Regions from separate parts of the Homo sapiens genome. Here region 1 is linked to region 2. The links are contacts of gene promoters, found by promoter capture Hi-C in human tissues and cell types (Jung and others, 2019). All regions are on one chromosome and are shown on one strand. The core of a region is centred on a gene start or on the middle of the fragment in contact, and the rest is flanking DNA. Distances in the headings are between cores, read along the strand shown.

Region 1 (2,700 bases), core at 76-2,575, 210 kb before region 2:
ACACAAATCACCACAGCGACCACTCCTCCCTCCGTCACCGACATGGGAGCAAAACCTGCAGCCTCGGTAAAACTCATACTATCAGCAGCCCCCCAACCCACAAAGCAGTCCCAGAAGGCTCCCAAGGCCAGGCGGTGGGATACAGACAACTTCCGCCGTGAAGAACCCCCCTAACACACCCCCCAAGACCCGCCCCCTCATGAACGTTCCCAGGGTCCAGGGGGTGGGCACGAGCTAAAAATAGACGGGGCTGCGGAGCTAGTGAGAGCCGGAGGGAGGGAAGGGGCGCTCTTTGGAGGTGGGGGACGCCCGTGTGGAGCGGACAGGCCCCGAGAGGGAGTGTGAGCGCCGGCGCGGACACGCAGGCGGAGCTGGCGACCCCCCGCCCGAGGGGGCTCCGCGGGGGGCGGGAAGGCGGCTGTGACCTACTTTCTCCGCCTCCGCACGGCCAGCCGGGGAGATTAGACTGGCGATTCGGCCCCCTCCCAGCCCAGAGCCCGGCAGGGAGGCTGGACGCCGGGGACCCGGGAGGGGAGCTGGGGCCGCGTCGGCGGGACCCTGCGCCCCCGAGGCGTCGCCCCGCGGCTTTCCCCCGCCCCTTGCGTGCCGGCCCTGCGTACCCCAGCTGGTCCCGGTGCGGCCCATAAACTGGTGCGTCCTCGGGTTCCACACGAACTCCTTCCACTCCTCAACCACCTGCCCGCAGCTCTTCTTCTCTTTCTGGATGACCATCTTGGTGGCGCGGGGCGAGTCCGGGCGCGGGGCGGGGGGTTGCGGAGAAGCGGGGGCGCCGCGCGCTGAAGCCCTCCACACACCCAAAAGCACGGGGAGCGAAGGCGGCGCGGGCAAAGGAGACCCCCCTCAGATATGCAGCTGCTGCAGATTCCGGGGTGCACGACCACGCGCTGCGGGGTGCTGGCAGCGCGGCGGAAGATGCACCGATCCTAGGCCCCCCAACTGCGATGAAAAGGGGTGCTGTCAGAGCAGGGGAGAATAACAAGAGGAAGGGGTATGAATGCAGCTTCACCCCCCACCAAACCGTCTAGAAACAAAACGAAATGGGGTGCAAAAACAGACGGCTACAAAAACCGAGCAGAACGCAGAAAAAAAGCGGGGTACAAAAAGGCAGAGAGAGGTGGGGGAGGGGGCCGCCCCGAAATCCAAGATGCAAAGAAGCTGTGGAACGAAGCTCAAGGCTCGCTCCGCCAAGCGGAGACCACTGCACCGGTGGTGGCTCAGCCGCGGGGGTGGGGCGGGGACGCGCAGCTGGGGGACAGCCAGGGATGGGGGGCCCCCCAGGCGGAGGCTCCGCTCCTCAGCAGTGCGAGGCCCGCGGTCGCCGAGCGCGGTCTTTATACTCTGCGGCTCTGGGGGTGCCCGCCCCCTTCCCACCCCCAGAAGCTCCGCCTCCTCGCCACTGGCCCAGGCGACCTCATACATATGTAAATATGGAGAGGTTGGGCCCGCCCCCCTGACTTCTCTTAGGGACCTAGCTGTCTCTCCATTACCCCCACCCCAGGTACTAGACTGGGACAGGGTGGGAGGAAGAGATAGAGGGCGTGTCCGGGCGGAGTAGAGGGAAAGATAACCCCAGAGAAACACAACGGCAGAGAGAGAAGCCGATATATGCTCAAAGGTGGGGGCCCCAGGCAGGGAGTTAGAAAGAGACTAAGATACAGATGCGGCGGAAGAGTCCGGGAGCAGATGGGGCAGAATGTCAGAGGAATAAAGAGCTAGAGATCAAGAAAGAGAGCGAAGAGACCAGCCGGGAGGCTGGCCGAGCCAGGAGGGAAGCTAGGACAGGCCCCGCAGAGATGGATAAAGGCCACCCCCAGAGGGACGTTCCCCTGTTGGGAGCCGCTACCAGTCCCCCAGACGCCTCCTTCTCCAATCTCACAGCCCCTGTCCACACCACCTGGCTCTGTCCACGTGCAGAGGCTTCCCCATCTTCCCATCACGTCTCCCTGAAGCCCTCTCAACACCACATTCCCAGTCCCCAGCACTGCCCTGAGATCCCAGCCCTGCAGCCAGGTCTACTTCGGTTCTCTGCCTCCTGGCACCCCCACCCCCACGTCGGAACTCACCTCCTTATGTGTCTACTTGGGTCAACAAACATTTATTGAGCACCTCTATAGACTGTGTGCTGTAGCCCTGGGGAGGCCAGAGAGGTTACACTGAAGCCACATCTCTCACGGGGCTCACAGTCTAGGGCGGGAGTACACTTGCTCTACATACCACATGTTAAGAATCATTATCTCAAGCCGGGCACGGTGGCTTATGCCTGTAATCCCAGCATTTTGGGAGGCCGAGGCGGGCAGATCACGAAGTCAGGAGTTCGAGACTAGCCTTGCCCACATGGTGAAACCCCGTCTCTACTTAAAAATGCAAAATTAGGCCAGGCGCGGTGGCTCACGCCAGTAATCCCAGCACTTTGGGAGGCCGAGGTGGGTGGATCACGAGGTCAGGAGATCGAGACCATCCTGGATAACACAGTGAAACCCCGTCCCTACTAAAAATACAAAAAAAAAAAATTAGCTGGGCGTCGTGGCGGGAGCTTGTAGTCCCAGCTACTTGGGAGGCTGAGGCAGGAGAATGGCATGAACCCGGGAGGCGGAGCTTGCAGTGAGCCGAGATCGCTCCACTGCACTCCAGCCTGGGCAACAGAGCTTCCGTCTCAATAAAAAAAAAAAAAAAAATTAG
Region 2 (2,700 bases), core at 125-2,624:
CTGGTGGATGGCTCGAGCCCCCGCATTCAAGAACAGCCTGTGCAACATAGTGAGACCGCATCACACACACACACACACACACACACACACACACACACACACACACAGACACACACACACACACACACACAAAATTGGAATTAAAAATGCATGGGGTGTAACTCCTGTAGTAAAGTTAAGTGTTGTTTCTTCGAGCTTTTGCTTCAGTTATAAACGTGTTATCTAAAGTCATGATGTAAAAAATATTCTTACTGGGCTGGATATTCAAGGAAATTGTCAAGGCAGAGGGAAGCCCTTTCCCACCCCGTGGGGTCTCCATACCAGGTCTAAGTACACCTTTGTGCTCATCTCTTCATCCTTCTCGTTCTAGAAGGGAAAAATTTAAGGCGTAAAGGTGAAGTAGGGTGGAGAGAAATGAGGGGGCTCGGGGGGCCAACCTCTCTCCTGGGAACGCCGCCCCCTTTTTCTGAGCCCCATCCTCTCGGGTCCAAGTCCACCTCCCAGAAGCGGCGTTAGTTTAAGACCTGCCTCTATCTCAGAAACACCTCTTCCTGCCGTCTACACTCCCAGCCTATCAACCTACCAGACCCGCCCCTGCCTAGCCCTCCGCCTAGCTCTGTCCCCGGCCCTGCCTTCAGCTCATAATCCACCCAGCCCCGAACCTCCACCCGCTGCCATTTATTGACCCCTGAGCACCAAGCTCCGCCCCACCCTGGGCACTCAGGACTCATGTGGCCCTACGTCGAGGTCCGTCCCCCAGCCCCTGCCTCGTCCCCAGCCCCACTTTAAGGTCCGATCACAGGTCCGTCCTTCACCCTACCCAGTTCTACTCCAGGCCCGTCCACCACCCACGGCCAGAGCTTGTCCATTGGTCTGATTTCGATCCAATCTTCACCAAAGGCTGGTCCATCTCAGCCTGGTCTCGTCCCAGGCCCCGCCCCCAGCCTGTCCCTGGTCCGGCCTTGCCTAAAGCCACGCCCCCGGCCGGTCGGCTGGCCTGACCTCCACCCCCCGCGCGCCCTCACCAGGCTGATGAGTTGCGCCAGGATGAGACCAACGCTGACCCTGACACGGTCTCCCACCTCCCGCGCTGGCCGCACGGAGCTATCATAGCCAGAGAAAAGTTTCTCCCGGAGTCGACCCTCCGCCTCCGAGCCGCGGACGCCTGGGGGAGGAGAGAATAAGTGCAGCCCTGGTGCCTGGCCACGACCGCTGGCCCCGTCACTGCCCCTTCGGGGCCTACACTTACCTGGGGCGAGCGGCGCCCCCAGCGCCCCCAGCAGCATCAGCAGAGCCCCTGGGGTCATAGCCTGGCGGCTCGCTCAGTGACTTCGCTCAGAGAGCCGCTGGGACCGCCAGCACAGGGGAAGTGACGAGGAGCCCGGGAATGTGCACCTGTTGCTGGAGGACAGCCGCCAGCCCACCCGCCCCGCCCCCGGGACTTGATCCTGCCTCGAGCAACTGCCAAGCCCGCCACCGACAGATGACAGACAGCACTTCAGTTGTATAAATCGTCTTTAATTGAGAAAGCTGGAGTGGAGACCCGATCCCCTGGGAGCAGTGCCAGGAGTTGGGTGGAGACTGAGTGGGGTTTGTGTGGGTGAGGGGGCATCTACTCCTCTTGCAACAAGCCAGAAGTAGAACAGCCTAAGGAAAAGTGACCTGCCTTGGAGCCTTAGTCCCTCCCTTAGGGCCCCCTCAGCCTACCCTATCCAAGTCTGAGGCTATGGAAGTCTCCCTCCTAGTTCACTAGCAGGTTCCCCATCTTTTCCAGGCTGCCCCTAGCACTCCACGTTTTTCTGAAAAAATCTAGACAGGCCCTTTTTGGGTACCTAAAACCCAGCTGAGGTTGTGAGCTGTAAGGTAAAGCAAGTTCTATCCAATTAGAAGCTGTTGGGGCGTATGAGGTCTGGAGTGCAAGAGGCCTTCACCCTTCTTGGCCTGACCTGTAGGGGAGAAGGGTGAGACTTATTGCTGAATTGGGGTCTCCTCACTGGGAGGGTCAAGGCTGTATCCATTTGTCCTTTTTATTAAGGACATATTACTCTAAGGACCTCAGCTTTAAAGGGGACCTGGAAGGAATTCCTGCTGAGGTAGCTAAGTATTCATGTCCACCCAACACAGATGCAGGTTCAGTCATGCCATAATTTTGACCCCTCCCCCATCCCAGCTTCCCTACTATGAGCCAGGGATCCTTCCAAAATTCCTCTGCCCTTCTCCAGACTCTGTCTCCCTGGCACGACCTCAGCTGGGTTGAAGGAGCTAGAAACTGCATGTAAAAATAAGCTTAGCATTCTATATGGAAGAATCATATTTTTAGAGAATTATCTAGGAAAAACAAGAAATGGTTCTTGATTCATCCAGAAGTGTTTTTATGAATCATAGCTGGGTCTTTTCCAGAACTCATCCGTAATAGGTATCACTCAAGAAGGCGGGAGGGTGGGGCTAGAACTTACTTAGAACAATAATATGGCTATACAGGCCCCAGCTCCATCCTGGGTAAAAGGGCTGAGAGTCATGATCTATGTCCTAGAGCTAGGATTCAGGGGGAAGTACGGCTCCATAAAGCTCTAGAATTGGGTGTCTCTGGGATAAGAAGGTTAAACCCGTGGTCATCTGAGACTGGTTCCGGTTCAGGCCAAAGCCAACAGCTAGACAAGGCCCAAATCTAGCCTCTTTCTACTTGGAAACCAGGGGTCC

Evidence for each region. The method cuts DNA at HindIII sites, captures the fragments that hold promoters and counts their contacts. A contact is called where the count stands out against the background at its distance.
Region 1: a contact is called between the fragment with the promoter of ATP1B2 here and the fragment with the promoter of CHRNB1 in region 2, in 1 of the 25 tissues and cell types used here (bladder).

What each region holds. Positions count from the first base shown.
Region 1 is chr17:7,649,551-7,652,250 of GRCh38, reverse strand. ATP1B2 (ATPase Na+/K+ transporting subunit beta 2) reads right to left here and starts at 1,325. Exons shown (of 7, transcript NM_001678.5): 1 at 621-1,325. The coding sequence starts at 732. RefSeq lists enhancers at 755-1,397, 1,672-2,172, 2,173-2,673 and a silencer at 1,266-1,415. The HindIII fragment of the contact is 20,754 bases long and covers 1-2,700 here.
Region 2 is chr17:7,443,735-7,446,434 of GRCh38, reverse strand. CHRNB1 (cholinergic receptor nicotinic beta 1 subunit) reads right to left here and starts at 1,374. Exons shown (of 11, transcript NM_000747.3): 1 at 1,250-1,374; 2 at 1,026-1,165; 3 at 322-366. The coding sequence starts at 1,307. It overlaps FGF11 (fibroblast growth factor 11), which reads right to left. Exons shown (of 5, transcript NM_004112.4): 5 at 1,498-2,700. RefSeq lists a silencer at 1,253-1,302. The HindIII fragment of the contact is 9,790 bases long and covers 1-2,700 here.